4 separate regions of the Homo sapiens genome follow, and all the other regions are linked to region 1. The links are contacts of gene promoters, found by promoter capture Hi-C in human tissues and cell types (Jung and others, 2019). All regions are on one chromosome and are shown on one strand. The core of a region is centred on a gene start or on the middle of the fragment in contact, and the rest is flanking DNA. Distances in the headings are between cores, read along the strand shown. Region 1 holds the start of ABHD17A (abhydrolase domain containing 17A, depalmitoylase). Region 2 holds the start of NDUFS7 (NADH:ubiquinone oxidoreductase core subunit S7). Region 3 holds the start of DAZAP1 (DAZ associated protein 1). Region 4 holds the start of ADAMTSL5 (ADAMTS like 5).

Evidence for each region. Contacts are between HindIII fragments. The study calls those that stand out against the background at their distance.
Region 2: the fragment with the promoter of NDUFS7 here is called in contact with the fragment with the promoter of ABHD17A in region 1 in 1 of the 25 tissues and cell types used here (dorsolateral prefrontal cortex).
Region 3: a contact is called between the fragment with the promoter of DAZAP1 here and the fragment with the promoter of ABHD17A in region 1, in 1 of the 25 tissues and cell types used here (lymphoblastoid cells).
Region 4: the fragment with the promoter of ADAMTSL5 here is called in contact with the fragment with the promoter of ABHD17A in region 1 in 1 of the 25 tissues and cell types used here (dorsolateral prefrontal cortex).

What each region holds. Positions count from the first base shown.
Region 1 is chr19:1,883,733-1,887,279 of GRCh38, forward strand. It overlaps ABHD17A (abhydrolase domain containing 17A, depalmitoylase), which reads right to left and starts at 1,764. Exons shown (of 5, transcript NM_001130111.2): 1 at 1,620-1,764. RefSeq lists a silencer at 1,029-1,176 and an enhancer at 3,343-3,547. The HindIII fragment of the contact is 23,112 bases long and covers 1-3,547 here.
Region 2 is chr19:1,381,925-1,385,471 of GRCh38, forward strand. NDUFS7 (NADH:ubiquinone oxidoreductase core subunit S7) reads left to right here and starts at 1,983. Exons shown (of 8, transcript NM_024407.5): 1 at 1,983-2,018. The coding sequence starts at 2,003. TRF-GAA1-6 (tRNA-Phe (anticodon GAA) 1-6) reads right to left here and starts at 1,510; the gene lies at 1,438-1,510. TRN-GTT2-6 (tRNA-Asn (anticodon GTT) 2-6) reads left to right here and starts at 1,639; the gene lies at 1,639-1,712. RefSeq lists silencers at 1,353-1,482, 1,663-1,802, 2,053-2,112. The HindIII fragment of the contact is 12,722 bases long and covers 1-3,547 here.
Region 3 is chr19:1,405,728-1,409,274 of GRCh38, forward strand. DAZAP1 (DAZ associated protein 1) reads left to right here and starts at 1,859. Exons shown (of 12, transcript NM_018959.4): 1 at 1,859-2,075. The coding sequence starts at 2,047. RefSeq lists silencers at 1,703-1,932, 2,073-2,282, 2,663-2,762. The HindIII fragment of the contact is 8,178 bases long and covers 1-3,547 here.
Region 4 is chr19:1,511,492-1,515,038 of GRCh38, forward strand. It overlaps ADAMTSL5 (ADAMTS like 5), which reads right to left and starts at 1,528. Exons shown (of 12, transcript NM_213604.3): 1 at 1,472-1,528. RefSeq lists silencers at 1,353-1,722, 2,562-2,641. The HindIII fragment of the contact is 17,964 bases long and covers 1-3,547 here.

The DNA of each region.
Region 1 (3,547 bases), core at 514-3,013:
AGCCTCCCTCCTTGCTGATCACCTGCTCCAGGACATTCTCCCCCAGCAGCCAAACAATCTTTCACGACACAAATGCAATGGAGCCGCTTCCCTCTTGGGGTGTCCTGGGGGCCTCCCATTATTCCCTGGATAGAGATCAAAGCCCTCCCCACAGCCTGCCAGGTCCGCATTCCGGCTCAGGCCGACCTCTCCAGACTCACTCATCTCACACCCTGCCACTCCTGGCTCCCTCAAGACAAGCCAAATTGCCCCTTCCTGCCTCTGCTCCTCTGCCAGGAACTCCCTTCCCCAACCTCACTAGACAGCCTTGCCCAACCCAACCACCCTTTGCACCTCACTGCCAACGCTCTCAGAGTCCTCAAAGCTGGGACAGGACCCCTTACACGCTCTTTCCACAGCTTGTATTTTTCACACGTTTGGCCAGATCTCCCCCCACCTCCAAACCAGAAACTCTATGAGAGCAGGACCATGACCTGCCACTCACTAAAGGAATGGGCAGGTGGTAGGCAGCACAGAATTAAGGAGGAAGCACAGGAGGAAAAGAATCCCCAAGGTCCGCCAGCTTTGACAGGGAAGGGAAAGTCTAGTCTCCTCTCCTCTCCAGCCACAGGTACCTGGAACCTCCCTAGTGTCACTAATGGGCGTGGACTGGGGAGTGCAAACCCAGACGCCTCACTCACTGGGCACACACCCTTGACACCCTGAATCCCACCAATTCCGTTCCCACGCACTTAACTGGGCAACCCTCTGCAAGCTAGAGGTGTTCTGAGGACCAGCAAGCAACCGAGCAGCCAAAATACTGGAAGATGACCTACATATGGGAGACGGTGACTGCACCTCACTCAACCAGTCAGGGTGGGAAACCCGCCTGGGGGGAGGCGCGGCCATATCAGAGGGCAGACAAACGGGCCAGGTGACAGGGGGATGGGACAGAGGGACAAGCAGGAGCAAAATCCGAGGTGACAGAGCAGGCTCCTGGCTAGAGCAGACCCTGGGAGGAAGAAGTGAGCAGAAGGGTCCTAAGAGAGAGCCTGGGACGGGTGAGGTCGCGCCCCCGAGAGTTTGCACTTCATCCTGGGAGAAATGGCGGGGCCGCGAAGAAGTCCCGAGCAAGCGATGGACAACATAGGAGAAGGGCTGCATCCCGGAGAACGGACGCGAGCGGAGGCCGGGAAGCCCGCCCAGGAGTCAGGGTGGCAGGAAGAAGCCTGACAAGGGAAACAGCGACTGGGAGCTGGTTGGGAAGCAGGGCTCGGGAGGGCCCCTGGGAGCTGCCTTGGGGGGCGAGAGGCCGAAGCGTTTGTCGGACTGGGGGCAGTTTCGGGGCAAAAGAGCGGAATCCGCGGCTCGGACGGGTGCTCCCCGAAGGCAAGGGCCGCGTCCGCAGGAGGGTGGGAGCGCAACCCACGCCGGAGGGCTGAATGGATGGGGACAGGGCTTTCCCAATCACAGACGCTCATCCGCGGTCCGCGCCCCTGCTCTGGGCTCCTCGGGCAGGACCCGCGGAAGCCCTGGGACTGCAGGGGTCTCGGGGACGTCCAACCGGGCTGTCAGGCCCTCGAGGCCCGGCCCGGGACCCCGCGCGGCCGCGCCCGCCCCCGCCCCTGCCCGGCACTCACCACCCCGGCCCGCGCCCCCGGGCCCCAGGGCCGCGCTCCATGGCTCCCGGCCGCCCGCCCGTGCGTCCGTCGGTCCCTCCGCACCCCTGCCCGGCCTCCTGCACCGCCACCGCCGCAGCTCCCCCCACGGACGGAAGTGAGCCTCGTTCTCACCACCGCCCCGGAAGTGACGCGAGGAGCGCGCGGGGCGGGGGTCTGCAGGCACAGAGCGACCGCGCGACTAGCGTCCTGGGGGCGGGGCTGATATGTCGAGGGGCGTGGCCTGCTGCTCTGTGGGCGGGGCCAAACTTAGGTTTCATTCACTTGGGGACCCGGAATAGGTTGAGGCCAGTAAAGTTCTCGCCTGGAAAACAAAATTTACAGGGACGCCAAAAAAAACTCAGACATCAACATTTAGAAATGTTTTAAAATATTTTTCTTTATGAGATGGAGTCGCGCTCTGTCGCCCAGGCTGGAGTACAATGGCGCGATCTCAGCTCACTGCAACTTCTGCCTCCTGGGATCAAGCGATTCTCCTGCCTCAGCCTCCTGAGTAGCTGGGATTACCGGCGCCCACCACCATGCCCAGCTAATTTTTGTGTTTTCAGTAGAGACGGGGTTTCCCCATGTTGGCCAGTGTGGCCTCGAACTCCTGACCCCAGAATCCTCCTGCCTCAGCCTCCCAAAGTGTTGGGATTACAGGCATCAGCCACCGCACCTGGCCTCTTTTTTTTAACATAGAGTCTACTCTGTCACCCAGGCTGGTGCCATCATAGCTCACTGCAGCCTCGACCTCCCAGGATCAAGTGAACCTCCTACTTCAGCCTCCTGAGTAGCTAGGACTATAGGCACAAGCCACCATGACCAGCTTATTTAAAGTCTTTATATATTGCTCATCAGAAATTCTTTTGCATTAGTTTTTAAAATATTACATTAGGCCGGGCACGGTGGCTCATGCCTGTAATCCCAGCACTTTGGGAGACTGAAACAGGTAGATCACCTGAAGTCAGGAGTTTGAGACCAAGCCTGACCAACGTGGTGAAACCCTGTCTCTACTAAAAATACAAATATTAGCCGGGCATGGTGGCACGCGCCTGTAGTCCCAGCTACTCCGGAGGCTGAGGCAGGAGAATCGCTTGAACCCGGGAGGCGAAGGTTGCAGTGAGCCAAGATCGGGCCACTGTGCTCCAGCCCAAGTGACAGAGCAAGAAGACTGTCTCAGATAAATAAATAAATAAATAAATAAATAAATAAATAAATAAATAAAACTATGATCACTCCACTGCATTCCAGCCTGGGCGAGAGAGCAAGATCCTGTCTCTTAAAAAAATTTCATTATGGGCTGGGCGCGGTGGCTCACGCCTATAATCCCAGCACTTTGGGAGGCCGAGTCGGGCAGATCATGAGGTTAGGAGATCAAGACCATCCTGGCTAACACGGTGAAACCTCATCTCTACTAAAAATACAAAAAGATAGCCGGGCGTGGTGGCGGGCGCCTGTAGTCCCAGCTACTCGGGAGGCTGAGGCAGGAGAACGGCGTGAACCCAGGAGGCAGAGCTTGCAGTGAGCTGAGACCGCGCCACTGCACTCCAGACTGGGCGACAGAGCGAGACTCCGTCTCAAAAAAAAAAAAAATTGCATTATGGCAGGGCCTAGTGGCTCACGCCTGTAATCTCAGCACTTTGGGAGAACGAGGCAGGCAGATCACCTGAAGTTAGGAGTTCAGCCTGGCCAACATGGTGAAATCCTGTCTCTACTAAAAATACAAAAATTAGGCCACCCTGGCCAACATGGTGAAACCCCATCTCTACTAAAAATACAAAAATTAGCCGGCTGTTGTGGCGCGCACCTGTAATCTCAGCTACTCCACGCCACTGCACTCCAGCCTGGGCGACAGAGCAAGACTCTGCCTCAAAAAAAAAAAAAGTAAAGAAAAGAAAATGGAAGAA
Region 2 (3,547 bases), core at 733-3,232, 500 kb before region 1:
TTCTAAAAATATTGATATAAATTTAAGACCAAAACCATGGCCAGGCGTGGTGCCTCACTCCTGAATCCCAGCACTCTGGGAGGCCGAGGTGGGCAGATCACCTGAGGTCAGGAGTTCGAGACCAGCCTGGCCAACAAACCCTGTCTCTATTCAAAATACAAAAACTAGCCGGGCATCGTAGTGTGTGCATGTAATCCCAGCTACTCAGGAGGCTGAGGCAGGAGAATCACTTGATCCAGGGAGGTGGAGGCTGCAGTGAGCTGAGATCTTGCCACTGTACTCCAGCCTGGGTGACAGAGCAAGACTCCATCTCAAAAAATAAATAAATAAAAATAAAACCAAAACCCTACAGCACGGGCAGCTATGAGAACTAGAGAAGGAAGAGGGTTTTGTGCACCTGCCAGCCTCTTAGGTTCTTGTCAGCTTTTCCCCCAAGTCTTTATTATTATTATGTATTGTAGAGATGGGGTCTTGCTATGTTGCCCAGACTGGTCTCAAGCTCCTGGCTTCAAGTGATCCTCCTGCCTCGGCTTCCTAAAGTGCTGGGATTGCAGGTGTGAGCCACCATGCTGGGCCCCTCCAATCCTTTTGAGCTGCCCAAGAACAGAGACCAGGCCTGGCTTTGCTCAGCAGTGGGTCCCCAGCCCATGGCACGAATTCAGTAAACACTTGTTGTGGTCCTCAAGGGGCCCCCAGTCTTGCTAGTCACCTGTGTTCACCTAATTTGAGCCTCTGTTTTCTTTACTTTTTCTTTTTCTTTTTTCTTTTTTTTTTTTTTTTGAGATGGAGTCTCACTCTGTCGCCCAGGCTGGAGTGCGGTGGCACGATCTCAGCTCATTGCAACCTCCGCTTCCCGGATTCAAGTGATTCTCTTGCCTCAGCCTCCCGAGTAGCTGGGATTTAGATACAGGGTTTCACCATATTGGCCAGGTTGGTTTTGAACTCCTGACCTCAGGTGATTTGCCTGCCTCAGCCTCCCAAAGTGCTGGGATTACAGGCGTGAACCACCGCACCGGCCTTTGCCTCTGTTTTTGTAATCATAAAACAGGCAGACAAAACCTCCAGTGGAATTGTGAAAATTAAATGATATGCATGCAGAAAGCGTTCTGCAAACTCTGTTTTGCTAGTTTGGGTGTTTAGTGTTAGTTTTTATATCATTAGTACTGGTTGTAAACTTATCAATTTAAGCAAGATGGAAAATCGAGGGTGTGTCAGGGAAGGGGGAAGTTTGAGCTGAAATTATGACCTCTTAGGGGTGGGAAGAGGAGGCTTTGGGGTTGTGAGGTCTGAGCCCCCTTACTTTGGGATGAGTCCACATCGCGGCGACTCCTCTGCAGAATGCGGTGATGTTGCGGTAAGGGGTCCGGGATAGCTGCGAGGCAGCTGGACCAATCCTGAACGAAAGACATCAGTGATCGCAAGAGGCGCTAAAACTTCTGCCGAAACCCGGGATCGAACCAGGGACCTTTAGATCTTCAGTCTAACGCTCTCCCAACTGAGCTATTTCGGCTGGGCGGCAGAGTCGCTCTCGCCGGGACTCCGTCCCGCGCTGCGCCTTCCCTGCGCAGGCGCAGTCGTTTCGCGTCAGCAGGCCCCACATCCTTTGTAAGGTCTCCCAGGGCGCCGGAGCGCAGTGTCGTCTCTGTGGCGCAATCGGTTAGCGCGTTCGGCTGTTAACCGAAAGGTTGGTGGTTCGAGCCCACCCAGGGACGCGTGGTGACTTTTGCCCTCCTGGAATAACAAGAAAATGAGTGTCGCCTCTGTTTTTGTCGGTCCGCCGCAGACCCGCGGCCCCCACGTGCGCACTCCGATGACCTTTCCGCCTCGGGTGATCTGGGGGTGCACGGCGCAACACGACCACGGAGGCCGAAAGCGCAGCGGAACCTCCCGGCTCCAGGTTCCGGTTTCCGCATGCGCTCCGAGCCGCTTTGGGCGGCGGCCCCGGGAACCCGGAGCGCTAAGGAGAACGGACCTCAGAGGTTGTCTGAAGGCCGAGGCCAAGATGGCGGTGCTGTCAGGTGAGCGCGGCACCGGCGGCGGGTGTGGGGCCGCGCGGGTCTGGGGCCGTGGGAGCCTCGGGTGTCGTGGTGGCGTCGGGGGTCGGTGCCGGCGTCGTGGCCGCGGTCCTCTCCGGGCTTCTCCGAGCCGGCCGCTCCTCGGGCTCCCCGCCCGGCTTGCGATGAACGGTCGCCGTTATTGCGTCCAGAGTACAGTCGGGGAAACCGAGGCCCGGTAGGTCATGACGCAAGCCTCCAGCCTCAGGAAGGCGCTCGGGGTGGAGGCTGGAGGGGCCCCATTCACGTCCCCGAGACCAGGGCACGGCCCGCGAGGCTGCTCTTGAGATGCCCTGGAGAGAGCGGGGCCTGCCTGACAGGCTGGGAAACTGAGGCCCATTGAGGGTCTTCGAGGTCACAGGGCCGGGCCTGGGAAGGAACAGGACCCAGGACATCCACGCCACCCTGCTGGACCCTCCACCTCCCTCCCCACCCCTGGGAGGTAAGGGCCTCTCGCAGAGCCTGTCCTGCTCCAGGGACTTTTTTGGGATCAGCTGAAGCCTGCGGACCTCTGCTCAGATAAAGTTATTAAATGCATGGAATAAAATCCATAGAATTGCAAGGAAATCAGTTACACGGAGAGGCAGTTATTAAAAGATTGTCTTGAAACCTGATTGGCGACTTAGTAATCTAAGTGCTTCCCTTATGAACGCGATCTAGCGGCAGGTCTAATTGCGACTGTGATTTGGAAGGAGTGAGGAGTGGAAATGAGGCTTTGATGATACGGAAACGTCTGCAGCCCCTGCACCATAGCTAGGAAACATCTGTGATTCCGCTTGGTGAAAAGTTACAGGTCCTGCTAATACTGCCGTATTTTGTTGTCTATGCTAAGAATTTTTTATTTATTTATTAAGACAGGGTCTGCCTCTGTCGCTCAGACTGGAGTGCAGTGGTGCCATCTTGGCTCATCACTGCAACCTGTGCCTCCCAGGCTCAAGCGATTCTGGCACTTCAGTGTCCTGTGTAGCTGGGACCACAGGTGTGCGCCACCATGCCTGGCTAGTTTTTGTATTTTTAGTAGAGATGGGGGTCTTGCCCTGTTGCCCAGGCTGGTCTCGAACTTCTGAGTTCAAGCAATCCTCCCACCTGAGCCTCCCAAAGTGCTGGGAGCCACGGCACCCAGCCTACGCTAAGAATTGAATGAAGGGCTAATTTTCCATAAGATGCTGGTGACAACAAAGACATATATATTTTTTTATTCCAAGCAAATTCACAGTTCTGAATCCTCACCAGGCCCCTTGTTAAGAATGCCTGGCCCACGCGCGGTGGCTCACGCCTGTAATCCCAGCACTTTGGAAGGCCAAGGTGGGCGGATCACCTGAGGTCCGGAGTTCGAGACCAGCCTGGCCAACATGGAGAAACCCCGTCTCTACTAAAAATACAAAATCAGCTGGGTGTGGTGGCGCATGCCTGTAATCGCAGCTACTGGGGGGCTGGGGCAAGAGAATCGCTTGAACCCGGGAGGCGGAGGTTGCAGTGAGCTAAGATTGCAC
Region 3 (3,547 bases), core at 609-3,108, 480 kb before region 1:
TCCGGCCAGTTTTATTTTAAATGGGGTTTTAGTCCCAGCTACTTGGGAGGCTGAGGAGGGAGGATAGCTGGAGTCCAGGAGTTCAAGGCTGCAGTGAGCTATGACTGCATCATTGCACTCCAGCTTGGGCAACAGAGTGAGAGCCTGTCTCAAAATAAAAGAAAAAAAAGTGTTTTGTACTATTTGTCTGTGATCTTGTTCCTTGTATTTTTTTTTTTTGAGACAGAGTCTTGCCGTGTCGCCCAGGCTGGAGTGTAGTGGCACGATCTCGGCTCACTGCAAGCTCTGCCTCCTGGGTTCAAGCAATTCTACTGCCTCAGCCTCCTGAGTAGCTGGGACTACAGGCGCCTGCCACCATGCCGAGCTAATTTTTTGTACTTTTAGTAGAGACGGGGTTTCACCATGTTAGCCAGGATGGTCTCGATCTCCTGACCTCGTGATCCGCCCACCTTGGCCTCCCAAACTGCTGGGATTCCAGGAGTGAGCCACCATGCTCGGCCCTTTTTTTTCTAAGAGGGAGTCTTGCTCTGTTGCCCAGGTTGGTGTGCAGTGGCGCGATCTCGGCTCACTGCAACCTCTACTTCCTGCCTTCAAGCATTTCTCCGGCCTTAGCTTCCCGAGTAGCTGGGATTACAGGCGCCCACCACCACGCCCGGCTAATTTTCTTTTGTATTTTTAGTAGAGACGGGGTTTCACTATATATGTTGGCTAGGCTGGTCTCGATCTCCTGACCTAAATTGATCCTCGGCCTCCCAAAGTGTTGGGATTATAGGCGTGCGCCACCTCACCCGGCCTTGTTCCTTGTATTTATTTAATTCTGTGATGATGAATAAACCAAACGATCAGGCTGTCAATGTGCTGTGAGATTAAGGAGAAAAGCAGTAGGCAGCACGTACCCGGTTTTACAAAACCCTGCGGGTCACCTGTTTACTACCGTCAGCCTAGACCGGTTTTTCCACCTCCTTCTGCTGACATTGGAGGACGGGTATCATTCTTTTTGGGGGGTCGTCGTGTGCACTGCAGGGTGCTGAGCGGCATGTCTGGTCTGGACCCACTCGATGCCAGCAGCACCCCGCACTCAAGTTGTGACAACCAAAACCGTGTTTTCAGACATTGCCAAGTTATCCCCTAGGGGGCAAAGTCACCCAGAAGAAGAACCACTGATGTATGCAATTAACAGATGCAACTAAAACAGTATTTGGCTATTAATAGTAATAGCACTTGGGGGGGGGGTCAATAATATCTTTTCATAGTCATTGAATTTAGTTAATTGTTTTGATTTGATTCCAGTTCAGCCCCGAACTGGGTGACCTTGGCCAAGTGACTCAGCCTCTCGGACCCTCGGGATCCTCTTCTGTGAAATGCGGACAGGGGAAGGAGCCTCGCGCGGGACGCTCACGTGCCGTTCCCGCTCCGTCCGCCCGCCTGGGGTGCGGGCGGGTACACTCCCACTCCCCGCAGCGCCCCACGCGGCTCCACCGCTTCCGAGTGAAGAGTTAAAGAGGAAGCGGCAGCCGCGCCTGCGCCCACAGTGCCTAGCCCGGAGCGCCGGTCTCGCAAGCGCGCACGCGCACGCAAGCCCGCACGCGCGCGCACGCACGCACGTGGCTCGGCCCGCGCGCATCCTCCCCTTGCAGGGGCGGGGCCAGCGCAGGGACTCCATTTCCCAGCGTGCCCCGCGGCAACGCCAGGAGCCTCCGAGGAGAAAGGAAAACGCGCGACGGCCCCGACTGCGGCGGCGCGAAATCCGCCTCAGGGACGCACGCACAGACGGAGTACCCCTGGACCCGCCCCCGGAGACCCCGTGCGGGAGCGCGCCCGGGCGTGCGCAGGGGCGGCGGCGCGGCGGCGCGGGGACGCGCGGTGACCGTTGGCGCCGAGGGGAGGAGGCAGCCGCCGCCGCCGCCGCCGCCGCCGCCGCCGCCGCCGCCGCCGTTGCGCAGATCCGGGCCGCGGCTGTGGGGAGGGCGACGGAGCGGGTGACCTTCCGGAGGCGGGAGCGAGCGAGGAGGCCCGGGAGCGCCGAGCGTCGCCGCCGCCGCCGCCATGAACAACTCGGGCGCCGACGAGATCGGGTGAGGACGAGCGGCGCGGGCCTGCGTCTCCGCCCCGAGCCCGGCCCGCCGCTCCCCGCCGCCCGGCCTCAGACGCCGCCCCCCGGGGCCGCCCCGTCAAGGTCACGCCGGCCGGGGGCGGACTCGGGACCCGGACTCGCCGCGGCTTCGCGCCGGGGGCCCTGGACGGGTGCCCGGGGTCTGGGGGGGTCCTGGCGCCCCCGCCGCCGCTTCCCGGCTTCCCGTCCTGGGGGATCCTGAAGGAGAGCCTGAGGGGTCCGGGGGGCCCCGCCGCCGCCTCCAGACTTCCTGGTCGGGGGAACCCCGAACGGCAACCTGGGGGGGTGTCCTGGGGCGCCCGTGCCGCCGCTTCCCGACTGCGCGTCCTGAGGGACCCCGAATGGGAGCCAGAGGGGTTCAGGGGCCCCCGCCGCCGCTTCCTGGTTGTGGCGGCCCCGAACGGGAACTTGGGGGGGTCTGGAGCGTCCCCGTTGCCGCCTGTAGGGCTTCCTGGCCTGGGGGACCCCGAATGAGAACCTGAGGGAGTCTGCGGGGAGTCCAGGGCGCCGTCGCCGCCGCCTCCCGGCTTCCTGGCCAGGGGGACCCCAAACTGTGGCGTGGGGGGTGGTCCGGGGCGCCCCCAGCGCGCGCCCAAACTTGGCGGGCGGCGCACGTGGCGAGCCGAGGCGAGGGTTCCGGTTCTGCCACCGCCCAACCTATCCCACTCGGGGCTCCGGGCTCCCCGCTCCCATCCCACCCCCCCAAAGTGGTAAGGTCGGGAGGGGTTCGCAAACCCAGGGCCCAGGGGGCTCGGGTCAGCCGGGGCCTGCTGTGTTTACGTTGCCTCGGCGCCTCCCCGCCGGGGGTGGGCTTGAGCTGCGGAAGGGAGAGTCAGCGCTTCCGAGGCGGCGACGGGCCCGCGGATCTTTGCTGCGCCGAGGCGTCCCCTCCTATAGGAGCCTGACCTGCTCCGGACCCCGCGGGGCCGGGAAACCTCATTTCGCTGTGCCCCAGGGCTCGGCGCCATTCTTTGGTAGGAGCGGCTCCTGCCGCAGCGACGTCGTTTTAGAGTTGCATTCTTCCGGCAAAACAGTCTGGGTTGGGTTTCCTAGTGGTCTGGTGTAAATTTCTCGGTGCCCTTAGCTTTGAGCAGCGCCCTGTGTTCTCAGCGCTGGGCTTGGCTAGTGCGGGAGCGGTTGCTGCTAGAGGGTTGCCTTGGCAGGCGCCTCTCGCACCAGCTACAGGTCACACTTGTGGATGGGAAATGCCTTTTGTGGGCTCTCCCCCTCCCCAGACAAAACAAAAGAGCACCTTCCGTTGGAGAACCAGGATGAAAGCACTTAGCCCCTGCCTAGCCCGTGCTGTGAGTCCTCTCCAGGCACTTTGACTTGGCAGGGTCCGTGTGCCTGTGTGAGGGACATTGCAGGGATGGGCCTGAGCAGGGAGTCCACCGGCCATGGGGGATGGAGCCATCGACTTTGGGGTGAGGCAGG
Region 4 (3,547 bases), core at 278-2,777, 370 kb before region 1:
GTATTGTGCTATAATGCAGACAGTAGGTGCTTAATCGATGCTTGATGATTGGAGGGATCATTCAAAAATAGTACACAGGTGCCTCCTAGGGCTGGGGCCCCCTCCCCGCCCTCCCCACCATCACTGCTTCTACCTTTCCGTGTGGCCTGAGGCCAGCCACTCCACTCTCCCAGGCCTCAGTTTCCCCATCTGTGCAGTGGGGGCCAAGTGGACTCAGTCCATGATTCTGTGACACCCTGCGGAAGGTGCGGCCGGCAGGGGCTGGATCAGGAGTTGGGTCCCTAGAAGAGGCCCTCAGCTGCACCCCGGCCCCAGGGCTCCCTCAGCTCCCAGACAGCAGGGAGTCCCCCGGATTGGGGATGGGACAGGGAGGGGGTGACCTGGCCCAGGTCCGTTCGGTGCCTCATGGCCTCATCGGCGGAGGGGGTGGGACTGAGCTCCGGGGCAGCCCGTGGAGGGAAGGGGCCACTGCTGAGGCTGGAGCAGGGAAGGGGAGGAGGCTGACTGCCTCTCTGGGCCTTAGTTTCTCCATCCTGTCAGGGCAGGGATGAAGTCACTTGCCATCCACACCCTCCTCATGACCCCAGCCTGCAGGGGGAAAGAGGGGGGAAGGGAAGCAGCCGCCAAGTGAGCCAGGGCGTCCTGCTGCCAGCAGAGCCTGAAGGCAGGTGGGTGAGCCCCGGCCCGGGCACCAGCTGGGGAAGAGGCTGGGTCCCACCTGGACCCTGTTTCCCTGGCTCCAGCATTTGGACTTCTGAGGCACCAAGGGTCTAGGGTCCTGGGTATCTCTAGGTACTGAGACAGCTGTGTGGTCTGCTGCATCCGTGCCCCTCTCTGAGCCTAGAGCCTGGGCTGGCCCAGGAAGCAGGAAGAAGTCTGCACCAGAAACTTAAAACAAGGGGAGGGGGGCCAGGTGCGGTGGCTCACGCCTGTAATCCCAGCACTTTGGGAGGCCAAGACAGGCGGATCACCTGAGGTCAGAAGTTTGGGACCAGCCTGACCAACATGGTAAAACCCCATCTGTACTAAAACACAAAAATTAGCCCGGTGTGGTGGTGCACACCTGTAATCCCAGCTACTTGGGAGGCTAAGGCAGGAGAATCGCTTGAACCCAGGAGGCGGAGGTTGCAGTGAGCCGAGATGGGGCCAATGCACTCCAGCCTGGGCGACATAGTGAGACTCAGTCTCAAAAACAACCAACCAACCAAAAAAAACAGGGGGAGGGGGCTTGACCTTCTGACCACCCCCACCGGACTCTAAGCCTGGTTTGAGGAGTGGGGGTCTAGGTGGTGAAAAGTGGGGGGCTACAAGGACCACCCTACCCCCTCCTCAATGGGCCCTGCCCAGAATCAAGGCTCTCCCCTCCCCGTGTGGGCTGCAGCCCGGACTGGCGGAGGGATCTCAAGGCAAGCCGCACCTCTGGGCCTCAGTTTCCCCCGGAGAAAGTGGGAGGATAGGCAGATGGACTTACCGGCTGCGCGGAGCCCAGGCAGCGCGTCCCGGCTCCCTGAGCGGCCCCAGGGCGAGCGGAAGCGGCGGGGCCCAAGGTGCTGGGCGGGGTGGGGAGCCTGGGACGGTCCCTCCCACCGCGGCCTCCGCAGGCGCGCCCAGGCCCGGGTCAGGAGGGGCGGCGGCCCCGGGCGCCCTCGCGCGGCGGGCGCGGATCTGCGGCAGGGGACTGCCCGGCGGACGCGAGCGCAGGGGTCCCGGAGCCGCAGGCTGGTGTCGGGCGCCCGGGTCCGGGTGACCTTGGCAGGCTCGGGCGGGGGCGCGGCGCGGGGACTGACCGCCCTCCTCTGCCCCGGGGCTGCTATTCCGGGCGCCGCGCTCAGGGCCCGGGAATGTGCGCGAACCGAGGTCACCCCGCCCTGGGTCTGGGAGTCCCGGGCGCTGCCCCTACCCCGCCGACGCCCGGATTGCGTCCCACCGGCGTCCCCATCCCCGGTCACAGCCCCCTCCCCTGGTCCTGCCCCTCACCCCTCTCGCGGGGGGTCGACCTGCTCGTGGATGGGGACCCTGGCGCGCCTGGGCTCCCATCCGGGGGTTCCCCGACCCAGGTCCCGGTCACCCCCAGCGCAGGGCCCCAGCGCACTGGGGAGAGGCTCGGCCCCGTGGGCCGCGCGCGGGGGGCGGAGAGACCCTCCCAGCTGGCGCATTCCCGGGCGCTGCTGTCACCAGGGGACGCGCCCCACCCCGCCTCCCGCCCTCCCTGCCGGGCCCCGGGGCTGCCAGCGGGGCTTCAGAGCCAGACCCGGGTCCAGGCGGTCCCTCTCCCTCACAGCCGCGGCCACACCCTCTCCGGCCTCAGTTTCCCCATCCCAGCAGTGGGCCCGGCAGGGATCTCCACCGCGAACCTTCCATCTGGAATCCGGCTCTGCGCGGACCGGCAACGCGAGGGGGCACCCCGGGACTCCCCCCACCCCACCCTTTCCCGCCGGGCGTCTGTGAGCCGCCCCGTGCCCACCCACGCAGGGATGAGACCAGGCCCTGGGTTCTGGGCTCCACCAGTTTCTGGTGTCGCCCCACGGCGCCCCCTGGCGGGCGGGCTGAGGGACTGGGGCACTAAAGGAGGGGGTGGAGGGACTGTCCTGCTCCCTGGGCTCCACCCAGGCTCGGTCTGAGCACCCCCTCCTCCAGGAAGCCCACCCTGCTGTCCCACAGCGCTGACCACAGGGAGAGAGGTTTGCTGGGGACATACAGGGTGTTGCTGGTCCAACTCAGTCTGCCCTCCAGCCTGTAGCATGTCAGCAGAGCCACCCATATGCCATTTATTGAGCACCTACTGTGTGCACAGCTGTGAACAACCCAGCCAGTCCCAGGCCAGCGGGTAAGGCAGCCCCCTGGAATGTATGACCCCCCACCTTCTGACCTGGACTATTGGAGAAAATAGCCCAGGCCCACCACTGATGGCCCCAGGTTGGGGGGTGGTGGTTGCGGGGATGTCAAGAAGGCCCTCACTGAAGGGGTCAAGAGAGAAGGGCAGGCCGGGCGCGGCGCCTCATGCCTGGAATCCCAGCACTGTGGGAGGCCGAGGCAGGCGGATCACCTGAGGTCAGGAGTTTGAAGCCAGCTTGGACAACATGGTGAAACCCAGTATCTACTAAAAATATAAAACTTAGCCAGGCATGGCGGTGAGTGCCTGTAATCCCAGCTACTCGGAAGACTGAGGCACGAGAATCGCTTAAACCCGGGAGGCAGAGGTGGCAGTGAGCCGAGATCACGCCACTGCACTCCAGCCTGGGAGACAGGCGAGACTCCGTCTCAAAAAAAAAAAAAAAAAAAAAAAAGGAAAGAAAGAAAGAAAGAAGTCAGCTCAGGACATGTGTCAATGTGTCATTAGGACAATTGTATCCTCCTCAGATGTGCCCCATTCCCAGATGTCCAGTCCACAGAGCTCCACTGGGAGTGCAGACAGCAGGCCCTGTGCCCCGCAGGGAAGGTATACAGAAAGCACAGCGCCCACAGGGAGCACACACAGCAGGCATTATGCTCTGCAGGAAGGGTATACAGCAGGTGCTGCATCTTGTAGAAATGCATAGAGTAGACT